Regions from separate parts of the Homo sapiens genome. Here region 1 is linked to region 2. The links are contacts of gene promoters, found by promoter capture Hi-C in blood cells and fetal thymus (Javierre and others, 2016). All regions are on one chromosome and are shown on one strand. The core of a region is centred on a gene start or on the middle of the fragment in contact, and the rest is flanking DNA. Distances in the headings are between cores, read along the strand shown. Region 1 overlaps TMEM178A (transmembrane protein 178A). Region 2 holds the start of MAP4K3 (mitogen-activated protein kinase kinase kinase kinase 3).

Region 1 (6,542 bases), core at 399-2,898, 270 kb after region 2:
GGTAGTAACCTACATTTCTTTTTTTTCCCCTTTTAAAATTTCAATAGTTTTTGGGGTACAGGTGGTTTTTGGTTAACCTACATTTCTATTGTTCTGTTAAGGCTAACAGATATTTCTCAGACCCACCTCACTCTTTGTTTAAGTCATTTGACATCTGTTACTCAGGTCTATCCTGGGCTTGTCCTCTAGTCTATTCTCCACTTAGTGTGGACTTCTCCACGGACTCAGAGACGGTATAGTCTGACCCTCCATTGGTTACACCCCATCAGTCCTCTTATGGAATACCTGGGAAGAGTATTCCCTATGCCTCCTTGTCCTGTGGGCTCTAAGCCTGTCCATGTAACTTACTAATTTTCACAATGTATACAAAGCCCTAATTCTCTAATTCTTAATGACTTTCCTGAATTCTGATTGTGAATGTCTGTGTCTGTTTTGAGATTAGATTTAAGAAGAATCACTGCTGGCTTCCTCGGCATGGCCGTAGCCGTCCTTCTCTGCGGCTGCATTGTGGCCACAGTCAGTTTCTTCTGGGAGGAGAGCTTGACCCAGCACGTGGCTGGACTCCTGTTCCTCATGACAGGTAGGCTGCATGCCTCAGGCCGTCTGTCCCAGCCAAGGTGAAGGCTGCTCTGCATGCGGCTAGCTAGTGTCGCTTTGTTATCTCCCTGTTAATTTTGTTTTCACTGTTAGAAAAGCAACCAGAAGGTCATTTTGGCTTTGCTGGAAAATACAGAATTTAAGGAAAACAACAGTGTGAGAAATGCATCCTCTATATCCCCATTGTGGCCTGTTAGTAGGTTGGATGGAAGTGTCTTGGGTTTAATCTCTATATGAGCCCAGTCTGTTTTTTTGCTGTACTTTCTTTTTTCTTTTTTGTTTTTTTGAGATGGAGTCTCACTCTGTCACCCAGGCTGGAGTGTAGTGGTGCGATCTTGCCCCACTGCAACCTCTGTCTCCTGGGTTCAAGTGATTCTCCTGCCTCAGCCTCCTGAGTAGCTGGGACTACAGGCATGTGCCACCACACCTGGCTAATTTTTGTATTTTTAGTAGGGTTTCACCATGTTGGCCAGGCTGGTCTCGAACTCCTGACCTCAGGTGATCTGCCTGCCTCAGCCTCCCAAAGTGCTGGGATTACAGGCAAGAGCCACCACACCCCACCTTCTGTTCCTTCTTTCATACTGTGCCCCAAACCCTGGCCTGGACTCTTGGCAAACATGGACCATTGCTTATGAGGTGCCCTCAAAGACAGAGGGGGATAGATCAGCACAACCCATGCCCCGCTGGATGTCAATTCAAAGCATGCTTTAGTGATGGTGTCATTTTTACATACACAACACTCATTCATTTTAGTCCACAGATATCTTTTGAGGACTTACTATGTACGAGGCACTGCTGTGAGTGCTAAAGACACACAATGAATAAGGCAGGCAAAATTCTTGTTCATTTTTATTGTGGAGAGACATAAACAATGATTTGTGGTAGTGATAAAAGCTGTGAAGAAAAGAAACAGGGTGAAACAGGGACTCAGGGAAGATCTTGCTGAGGTGGCGATTTCGCAGCTAATTCGTGAGAAGCAGCCGGTGGTAGGAAGAGCGTAGCAGACTGGGGAAACCGCCAGTGCCAAACCTGAGAGAAGCGGCCAGTGGGGCTGGAGGGAGTGAGGGACAGGATAGTATCACATGAGGTGGGGGAAGTGGGCAGTGGCCAAAGCGTCAGGGTTTTGTTGGTCATGGTGGAGAGCTTGGATTTGAAGCTAAGGGTGACAAACGCCACTAGAAGGTTTGAAGCAAAGGAGTGACTTGATTTTTTTTTTTTTTTTTTTTTTTTTTTGAGACGGAGTTTCGCTCTGTCGCCCAGGCTGGAGTGCAGTGGCGCGATCTCGACTCACTGCAAGCTCCGCCTCCCGGGTTCACGCCATTCTCCTGCCTCAGCCTCCCGTGTAGCTGGGACTACAGGCGCGCGCCACCATGCCCGGCTAATTTTTGTATTTTTAGTAGAGACGGGGTTTCACCGTGTTAGCCAGGATGGTCTCGATCTCCTGACCTCGTGATCCGCCCGCCTCGGCCTCCCAAAGTGCTGGGATTACAGGCGTGAGCCACCGCGCCCGGCCGATTTTTAAAGAAGGGATTGGAAAGATGGGGGTGTGGAGACAGGGCTAGGATTTTTTTGACTAACAGCTAAAGGGTAGTTTTGTCTAAAAATGTGCCAGGTGCTGAGTTGATGGCTAACACTGACCGAAGGTAGCTTCAGGGAAGAAATCTTTCCTTTCTTCTCCTCCTTCACAGAAAACTCGTGTATTAATGATTAGTGAATGCCACATTAACTGGGCATTAACAGTTTCACACAGTATACTCAGCAACAGAACTAATATTCCCCGAGATAGATAGCCATTTTAAATAGGCTTATTTCCACTTGCTTGGAATTCTGTTATTCAAGTGACTATGCCTAGATTTTCTTGCACTTCTCACTGTAATGGGTCACTTAATTAAGCCTGCGTTAACAGGAGGCAGCCACACCCCACCGGGGCTGACACTGTTTGCTGACTGTCTGTCTCTGAGCGTTGACGGGTAGGGGGTACTTTGCCCTCTGGCATGTTCAACCACCCTGCAGCCTTAAGGAACCCACATCACAGGCAGGGATCCTTCCTTCTAACTCCCACTCACCCCTATCCCACTCCACGAAATGGTGCTGCAATTGGCAGTGATCTGGAATGTGGGGCATCATCACCAGCATCCTGGAACATTCAGAAGTCACATGGATGCTGCCTAGTTCTCAGCAGAAAACCAATTTAGGTTTTCTAGATTTTGGTGAATACACAGTGGCCACCAGGACTGTAGCACAGGGAGGCTAAAATGTTAGTTTCTGAGGTTTTAGAGGAGGATTTGGACCCTCAAGACCAGCCACTGGGTTCCTGCCCAAGGGATGCATTTAAAATCCAAATTATAGACTAAAGCAGACGCGGGCAGCAAAGAACCAGAGAGGACTGCACTGCACAGAGGATTCCTTTACACCTCTGCTGGGGCTTAATGGTTATTTAAAAATCTCCCCCGTTTTCTTCTCTCCCTTTATTTAAGCCCCCATTTCTCTGACTCTTGTCTCCATAAATATCAAAGAGGTACAGATGTGTTGCCTCCCAACACATGGGAAAGGCCCCATAACACTCCCCTTGTCAGGAAAATGGGGGATGCTCTGGAGTGGACAAAAGCCTCAGTAGGAGGAGTTTTTAAAGGATACTTTAAATATATGTACTGCCTGAATAGTTTAGTATGCTCTTAGCAAATGAAACAATTGTTAGAACTAAAATAAATTACAAGACCATGAAAGCCTACTGAGTGCTCCTTGGGAGACTGAGGGGCCAGTCTGGTTTTAAATGAAAGGAAGTTGAAGGTTCAATGGCAGGTGGGCACAGAGGAGAGGCAGTAGTTTCCTGGGCCAGCTCCACCTCTCCCTGTTCTCAGCCCTTATTTTGGATCCATGTGTGGATTGTACCTCTGGACCAGAGGAGCTCAGAGGTCCTCAGGATCGAGCACGGGAAGCTCCTGTGTAATTGTTAGGCAACATCAAAATATGCAAAGCAATAGCCACAACAGAAACCACCACCACCACCAACAAAAACCCAAACAATAAACTTGAAGTTTGATGACCAGTTCTGAAGGACTAACAGATACAACCTAACATTGTTAACATTGTTCTGTTGTTTTGTTTTGGTTGCCCAAACAACGTTATTGAAATTAAGGGGGAATCCACTTACAGACCTCATCACCTGAAAACAAAACAACCTTTTTTCAATATTTCCTTTATTTTGGACCAAATCTTGCCATGTATTTGCTTCACTGTAAAAAAACAAGAAAGGAAAAGGAAGGAGAAGAAAGGGGAGGGGATGGAAGAGGGGAGAGGAGGAGCATGGAGTGGATATGCTATGCTGGATTCACCTGTTCTGTTGCTGTGGGATTTAGGGGCGTTTGTTTTGCTTTTGTTACTACAAATAATGCCTTGAAATTTCCTTTGCAAACACTGAGACAACCATGTCAATCTATTGCTTGAGATAAATTAGCTGTAGAACGTTCACATGCAGTAGGAGATGAGAGCAAAAAAAGGGTTAAAAGAATCGATTTTAATTAAGCAGAATGTCTTTAGCCACTCAAGTCAGCATCCTTCCCACAGATTTTTGATGCTAAACTTAGCCCCTTCTAATGCTCTGCCATCTTCATTCTGTGCCTGAACTTATTAGCTAAACCTTCAAATGAAGAACATCAACCATGTGACAGGTTGGCTGGTTAAAATGGAAACTCTGAAACGATATTTCTCCTTCTGCCTTATTGATTGCACACAGACAGGTCTTGATTACCACATGTTACACAGCAGCCCTGCTGACTGTCGATGCACATCTGGAGCCAGGTCTCACCCCTCTTCCTCTTCCCTAGGGCCATGCAAGGGCCCTCCCAGAGAGCCAGGGGCAGCCTGCACATCTCCCACCGGCCTTGAATTTAGACTTTGGATGTCACACCCTCTGAGGTTACACACACACAGGCACAGAAGCATACACAGGTGACTGAGGGAATAAGACTCTTATCTTCCAGCTTTAAGCTTCTGCCCATTACTAGACTATACTGCTTTCAGTGTACTGTGAATGAATATTTCCACCTACATTATTAAGTGATGCATTCTATTAGATGGGTATAATATATACTTATTATAATTTAAGTTATAAATCTTTTAAAAGGTTATTCAGTGCAAACATTTTAAAACACTTTTTAAGGTCTCTGTTGTAGGATTTTTAGTATTTTTTAATTCACCAGGAGTCTTAAAAATTGGATAAAGCTTGGGCCTCCCTTGGTGGGGGTCTCACTGCTCACGAAATTCATTCACCTTCACAGGCTGTGCCTTGAGTGGCCAACTGGAAGATCACACACAGCATGAGACAGTCCCTTCCTGACAGCAGAGACAGAGAAGACAGAGTCCAGGCAGCCCTAGCAGAGCTCCAGGGACAGTTAACACCCACCCACACTGGTTATTCATTCTTTTGTTTTAATGAATCCAAATTTTTTTTAAAAAAAGACTCAACCATGGTAGGTGTATTGAATTATCTAGATTATCCATTGATTATGACATGAAACTACAGGTCCATGATACTTTTTCTATAACCTTGGGGGCCAGGTGTGTTTTGTAATTCAGGATCTAAAACTTTTTATTTTAGAAGAGTAACACGGTGCATATATCCTGTGTTATTTAACACCCTCTGCAAGGTCTGGGGTGGCATCTTGAAATCAAATACATTAATATTCCTGTAGCTAAACATACGAATATTCACACTAAATGGGATCAATAAGTACTAGAATAGCCTGTGTCAGACCAGGCCAGGATTTGCCACTACAGAGATTGCTTCAATCTTTCAGAAAATGATTGGATGCTTTTGGGATTTAGGAATTGCATTTTGTGTGTGTGTGTGTGTGTGTGTGTGTGTGTGTGTGTAAGAGTTTCTTTCTCTCTATTAGTTCTGCCAGTCAGTTAGGACAATATAGGAATGGCTTTTTGAGTAATCTGTGTGCAAACTAGCATGAGGCATTTGAAGGAAGACCAAAGAGATCAGAACGATGGGCAGGCCATCTTTTGAAGGAGCAGGGGAAAAAAATCAATGTTTATGCCTTTGGGTGTTGTAGTTACATTATTTATCAAGCAGGCTAAACAGGGTGAAGCAACTTCCACTCCTTTCAGTCTTTTAAGCACATTAAAAAACGGTGGTCAAAAGAGTGGGCCCCGTTACCCTAATTACATCTTACCAGCCGGCATCATGAAGATTTTAGGGTAGGAAATTAGGTTGATGATTGCAAGGATGATAGCATAAATTTACTTCTGTCCTGATGTGAAAATATCCCTTCTAGCCCTATAATTCTGTGATATCGTGGTATCTTCTAATTAGGAATATTGGCAGAAAACCTTTTAATATTTTATAAGAAAAGTAGTTGCATGCAGGGCTTGTCAGGAAACCAGTAATTTATTCACTTTTTTGAAGATGCTGCCAGCAGTAGTAAGGACCGAGCTCAGGACTCAGGAACCTCTCTCTCTCTCTCTCTCTCTGGGGGACACTAGCTGGCTGAAGAGTATCAGCTAGGCAGGGGAGAAGTGGAAAGGAAGGGAAAGCCTCAGAGAAGAATGGAGGAGAGGCCACCTTTCTCCCCATGGATCTTCAGGAAGGACCATTAGATTTTGAACTTTCTGAATGCAGAGGTGATACCTTATTAATCCTTCCATACTCCTTTCGCATACCTTGCATTAATTAGATTGCTGCCAATGAAAATGCAGCATTATCAGAAATAACTTGCTACATAGGTAATCCCTACTTGGGGTAATTTGTGATGAACCGACTCTTAAGTTGGTAGAACTCAATGTATTGCAGAATTCAGTTTCGTTCAGGTTTTCTTCACTCCATGTGCTCAGCTCTGTTGGACTCCATGCAGAACTTACGGGAAGTCTAAGAGATCCCTATGACCTTTTCCTGAGATGCACGGAGGAGAGTAGAGTGGAGAGAATGCTTGAAGTTC
Region 2 (6,330 bases), core at 3,728-6,227:
GATCTGCATCAAAGTCAGAAAACCTGTTTGTTTTTCAAACACTCTAGAAAAATTACCTCGCTACCTGTTTCATTGTCACTTTTCATCTCAAATAGCAACTGATGATGGGAAATTCTACCTTATTCAACTTCAAATGATCTTTCTGAAGTTTAGGGCCATTTCTTCTGGTCTCTCTAGAGTCTATTAGAGTCTATCCTAAATGGAAGTAAATAGAAGTGAGCATAACTCCAAATAACAATGTTTGAGCTTCCTTCAAATGTTCTTTTCTAAATGCTTAAGGTCTTCATATTCCTTATCCGTTAGGTTTAAGAATTGAGTTTTCCAGAAAGGTTCTCACAAATGCTGATTATAATGGAAGAATTAGTCTATGATGATATTAAATAGAACACCTTGAAAGATGCATAATTACAAATAAACTAACACGTAATTATCTAAATGCATATAAATTGGTTTCCTTATTTTACTGCCCAATCCTCACCTTTTTTCCTGCCAGCTTTCACAGACACTTTAAATCTATTTACACAGACTACGATGTGAATCCTACCTGGAAGCTTAACAACACGGCAGCCCGTGCTTCAGAGGGAATGGCTTCCAAACACACAAAGGTGAAAAAAAATCAATATCAACGTTTCCAAAGCATGTTCTACAAAACACTAGTACTAAGGACAAGCAATATGTATTACAGAGAAAAAGAATCTAATAGTCAAGTAAGTTTGGAGTTTGCTAGGTTAAGCAAAGTTTACCAGGTTTCTTTACCATAGGACTTCTCAGTCTTTAACCTACTCATGGTATGGCTTTTCCTGAAGCACCCCAACCACACTTTGGAAAATGCCTGTGTACAGAATTTAGCTAATGCCTAAGAAGCCCAGTCCAGAAGTCACTAAAGATGACTCTAAGGCTTACAGCCTGGAGTCTTTGTGTATCCAGTCTTGGATACACAGGCTAGGAATCATTCACAGGGACCAGACTAAAACCATAAGACTAGGTAAGATACTTCCTCAGAAACCATATTGAGACTATTCTTTCAAAACTTCTTTTGCCTTATCCCATCTCCAGCTTTACTATCTCCTGCTTCTTTCTAGCAAAAAATCTAGAAAAACATAAGGACATCAAGACTTAAAGGGTAGGAATAATAAAAATTAAACTGGAAAACTGCCTGACAAAAGATGGCACAATGCATGTGAAAATCATATTATGATCTATTATAACTACCTAATTTCTCCAAGAAAACTTTTTTGAATGGCAAACCTATGGATCATTTTTTCATTTTTTTGGATCATGAAGCTCTTTAAGAATGCAATGAATGCTATAACCCATCTCCACAGAAAAACACAAATACATACAACATTAAGCCTATTAATTTCAGAGCACTCCATGGGCCTCCTGAGGCCCAACTAAAGAGCTTCAGTTGCCAGCTCCTAGGTCCCTAGGTAACCCAAGCTGCAGGCACTTCATGACAGATAAAGCCTGCAGAGTTACACGACACTTACAAGATACGACTTTAGACAGTGCAGATAAAATGTATATATGCATTGGCCTGAAAAAAATAAAGATAACTTACTTACTAAGTAAAATTTGAGTCATTTAGTCAATACCAAAAGAAGAAGGGCATATGATGGTAATAATATCTCCACAACAAAACAGCTCTGAGAGGTTGATTTCACAAGGTCACATAGCTAATAAATCCCAGATTGTCCACATCCTTGTTCAGTGCTTTGGAACTAAACCACGCCACCTTAAGTACAATAAATATGTTATTACATTGAGTAGGAAAACATTTTCAAAATAAAAATCTCCACCAACCTTCCAAGAATGACTATAATCGGATCTCTTATTTATTTAATCCAATCATTCCATTTTTAGCACGTAAATGCTGACAAATTAAGGAACAAATTATATATATTGGCTTTTGAAAACAAAATGTACTTCTCTCTAGCACAATTAATTTGTATAAATAAGAAAAAACTAAAACAGCAAAACAAATAACAAAAAAATGTAACTTTATAGAATAAACTTGATTATAGACAAAAACATAAACAAGAGTTTGGCAGGCAGGGGTACATGATGTCAAGAACCACATGAAGTTTCTCTGCTTTGGTCACTGGTATTGGAAGAGTCTGGCAGGCAGGGACCAAGCATCTATTATCTGATATCCACTTGGCAGACTACATAAACAGTGAGACCTTGTGGCACAGCAGGAATTAGGTATTCCAACTACTACTTAAAGATCTACACTGACTCAGAGTGTGGCTACAACTCAAATGCTAAACTAAATGTGTGCCTCAGTTTCTCCACTGGAAATGTAATACATTATCTGCCCATCTCCTATCTTTAGAGAGGCAGCACTGCCAATTGGTTAAGAATACAGTCCCTAATTGGTTCAAATTTTGGCTTTGCCACCTACCAACTTTGGCAAGTTAATCTCCTTGTGCCTCAGTTTATTCAACTGCAAAATGGAGTTAACAATAGCACCTATCTCACAGGGTTGCTGTTAGGATTAATTAGAAAAATCTTATAGTGCCTGGCAAGTAACAAGCATTCCATAAACATCAGCTAGTATTATCATTATTTTAAACGAATGACAAGATTAACCAACTTAGTATACCTCTATTACACTTAGGAAATTACAGGCCCTAATTTTTTTTTGCTTTTTAATCATGTGGCTTAACTACTAACTGTTCTTTTTAATATAGCAAGTACACAGCCAATTAGTCCTGTAAAAAAATTCACTGTATACCCTGCCACCTAAAACGTATACATTCATCGAGTTTTAGTTAACTTTTCATCGCAATATAAGCGAACTCCCCCAACCAGTCATAAGTGACTTGCATCCATCCACTTCTACTTTCACAGTCATCACCATATTCCTTAACACCATTATTCTTACCTAGACTATCACAGTGGCCTCCCAACTGCTCCATTCCACTCTTCATGCTGTAGTAGGGAGCTCTTTTAAAAACCTAAATCTAATGTCACTCCTCTGCTTAAAAGCCTGCAATAGTTCCCCATTGTCCTAAACAAGTCCGATCTCCTAATGAGAACTAAGAGGCCTGCAAGATCTAGGGCCACCCTCCCGCTCTGGCTGCTCAGGCTATACAGGCCTTCTTTCACATCGGGCCTCAGAGCCTTCACATATCATGCTCCCCTATCTGGCGTAATCCCCTCTCCCCAGTACCCTAAGCAACGCCTAATCATCTCTGAGATCTCAGCTGAAAGGCGATGAGCGTCTGATACCCTAAACAGGATCAGGTCCTCCTATTACATGCTCTCATAACCCTGATCCTAATACTCTTTTCTGCATCACAAAATTAAACGGCAATAATTATTTAAATGGCTATTTAATACTGTCCTTGTCCAAAAAAATAGAAACACTTAGGAAGATTTGGAACCAAGTCTATCGTTTACTGCTACAACCCAAAGTGCTTACTTGCCAAGTATCTCATACATTGTAGGTGGGCTCAATATATCTATATTGCATAGTAGGAAAAGTGATGAGATCCACGATGGTGAAAAGTAGATCATCCAGAAAATCAGACTAAAGCAGAACACTGGCTGCACTGTATTAAATATGTAAGTTACCACAGGCATTACACTGAAGAGTAAAAACCTGCTTAAACATGGGCAAAATAAAGTTAAGACTGAACTTTCCAATGCAAAATTAAGTTTCTTTGTGCATCCTCAGGTGTTATGTGAAACTGGAGGAGTTCAACTTCAGTTACCAGTAAGAAGATACACAACTAAATCAAGACTGCTGCCACATTTGGCAACAACCTCCTCTCTTCTTGGCAGTAACTGTGAGGCCAAGAGTTGAGTTGGCCAGGGAAGAGTGATTTATCTTCCCACATTTAGAAGTGGTCCCTCTACAACAGGAATGCTGTACCGCTACTGGACTTTGAATTCTAACCTTGTCAAACCAGTACCTTCCCTAAGTATTCAAGTCACTTTTTAAAAAACAAGTTTAAATGGCATCGCAGTCCAATTCGACTTAGAGAAAACAAAGTTGCTCTTTCCAAAAAAAAAAAAAAGTCATTACTCTGGAAAATTAAAAGAAACTGACAGGGGGATGAATAAGGCGCTAAAGGCTGAGAGCTGTCGATGGAAGATGGAGGTCGCTCAGCATAGTATAATAACTACCACCGAGGCCTGGTGGGCAGCAGCTCCCAACCTAGAGCGGACGACCCCAGGTTGGCGTGAAGCAGGCAGGTTTGACAACACCAGACCCCTGCTGTCCGGTTCGTCGCGCTGACCCTGCCAACGCAACAAACGCCCAGACCTTCTCTGCACTATGGATGAGCAGTGTGGCCTGCTCTCGTTCTGCCCTTCCCTGGAAATGCGCGCAAGAAGGGAGGTGGCAAAAATCATGTCCACCGGGGGGGCTCAGGTAAGGGCTGGGGAGGTCTCGGGGTTAAACATTCGGCCCTTTGTTCACCAAGGCAGCAGAGCCCTTGGCGTCCGCAGCTCCTCCTCCCCGACTGCTCCCTGGCGCCAGCGTCTCCCGAGGACAGGCGGCAAGGGCTCGGACGCCCAGGCTTGGCTGCGGGTCGGGATCCCACGGCCTCGGCGGCGCGCGGCCCCTGCCTTTACCTTGTAGACGTCGCCGTAGGTGCCGCTGCCGATGCGCTGAATCAGCTCGAAGTCCTCCTGCGGGTTCCGGCGGGACAAATCGAAGCCGGGGTTCATGGCGGGCCCCAGGTGCCCCCCGCCTCCCTCCCGGGCAGGGGAGGGGGGCCGCTCAGGGGGCCACACGGAGAGAGGGCGCCGCGGCCGGCTCCCGGCTCCCCCGGCGGTCACAATCACCCGGCTCCACGCTGCGGCCGCCGCCGCCGCCGCCGCTCCCCTCACGCCGCTGCGGACGACGACAAGCGGCCAATCGTCCCCGCCCCCCGCGGCCCGCCGCCGCGCCGAACCTGGTCACACCCACAAGGAGAGGAGAACCCTCGCAGCCCCTCGCTCGGGGTGAAACTCCAACATGGCTTCCGCTTTCGCCGCTCCTCCCCCTCCCCTTACTCCGGCTCCTCCAACCTCCTCCCCTTTTCCCGACTCCCGCCCGACTGCGCAGCCGCGATCCCGGAGGGAGCGCGCCAGGCCTGGCGCGCACCCGACCCCTTGCGCGTTCCGGCTCCGCGCGCCTGCCAGGCCGGGGCCGGCGGCGGAACAGCTTGGGACCCGAAACGCCTCGGCTTTTCTGCGGACCCGCGCCCGGCCGCTGCCGCCGGACGCTTGAAAAGGTTTGCCTGGCCCAGGGACCGGGGTTAGGACTAGCAGAAAGTGGCTTCTTTTCGTTTCTGATTCCCCTAACGACAAAGTTGGACCTTGGTCTATCTGGTCCCAGTTCCAAGCAGGTAGCATAGTGGTAATATCCAAGACAGCCAATGTCCCAGCCTTTATTATTTTAGAAGCAGCTACATGTAGGATACCATGGAGTGCTGCAGCCTTTCTGGGATTGCGGGGAGGGGTCACTAAACACACCGTGAGGAAAACCCCCAGGAAAAGTGAGCTGTGCTTGCTTGCCCCTGTCACCGACACTCGGACCCTTGGAGTTGGCCTGCCAGGGTGCAAAGGAGGGCAGGCCAGGAGGGCCGCGAGGGAGGTGTGTGCAGTGGGCAGAGCGTGAAAGCTCCGGGAGGAAAACACGCGGAACAGCTGCCCACCATCCCGCGTGGGAGGCAGGCAGAGCGCAGAACTAAAGCAGTGATTGACCTCCCTCTTCGAAGAGGGTTGGATTATCAAAGACGGGCGGGGACTGCGCAGGCTGTCAAGCAACCCTGTAAAGAAGGGGTGGAGAGTGGACTAGATCTATTACCGCACCTGAAATATAAACACGTGACGATCCGGAAGCTCTTTAGCTGTGACCTTACCTACCCAAAAACCCCACCCTGCTTAAGACCCAGATTGCGCGTCTTACATCTGAGCTATGTGGACTCCAGCTCCGATTGTTAATACTTGCCCAAGAAAGCTTGAGGGTAATGGAAGGTTATTTTTCTGTTCTCATTGAACTTCCCAATAGACATTTGCAGGAGCTTTAATCAATTAGGTGATGGCCACTTTGGCAATACCACGTTGGAGTTTTGCTTCAGAAATGCTTTCCTAATCCCCTTAGGCACCACACCTTCTAACCACTAATATTCCCTAATACCTCGTGGCTCCTGAGAAACTAGGTCTCATCAAACCTGTTAAGGATAAGTATAATAAATTAATAGTAGAGCAAACTACTTAGAGTTAACTGCTTCATACTTTTTCAAAAAATCTTTTGAATCCTTTTGCTCATAGGAAAATTGCATATGTACTAAATTCTCAAATTGTTTACTTTGAGTATCTGTTGACTAAATT

Evidence for each region. Contacts are between HindIII fragments. The CHiCAGO score rates a contact against its expected background, and 5 or more counts as called.
Region 1: a fragment that was not itself captured here is called in contact with the fragment with the promoter of MAP4K3 in region 2 in 3 of 17 cell types (endothelial precursors, total B cells and naive B cells); the score reaches 7.5 in endothelial precursors.

Annotation. Positions count from the first base shown.
Region 1 is chr2:39,706,607-39,713,148 of GRCh38, forward strand. TMEM178A (transmembrane protein 178A) reads left to right here. Exons shown (of 4, transcript NM_152390.3): 3 at 443-580. Among named protein-coding and RNA genes, the nearest start is that of TMEM178A, 44 kb to the left of the region's middle. The HindIII fragment of the contact is 5,873 bases long and covers 1-4,585 here.
Region 2 is chr2:39,432,308-39,438,637 of GRCh38, forward strand. It overlaps MAP4K3 (mitogen-activated protein kinase kinase kinase kinase 3), which reads right to left and starts at 4,978. Exons shown (of 34, transcript NM_003618.4): 1 at 4,585-4,978. The coding sequence starts at 4,680. MAP4K3-DT (MAP4K3 divergent transcript) reads left to right here and starts at 5,109. Exons shown (of 6, transcript NR_037875.1): 1 at 5,109-5,228. RefSeq lists an enhancer at 4,172-4,251 and silencers at 4,582-4,941, 5,012-5,231. The HindIII fragment of the contact is 5,405 bases long and covers 550-5,954 here.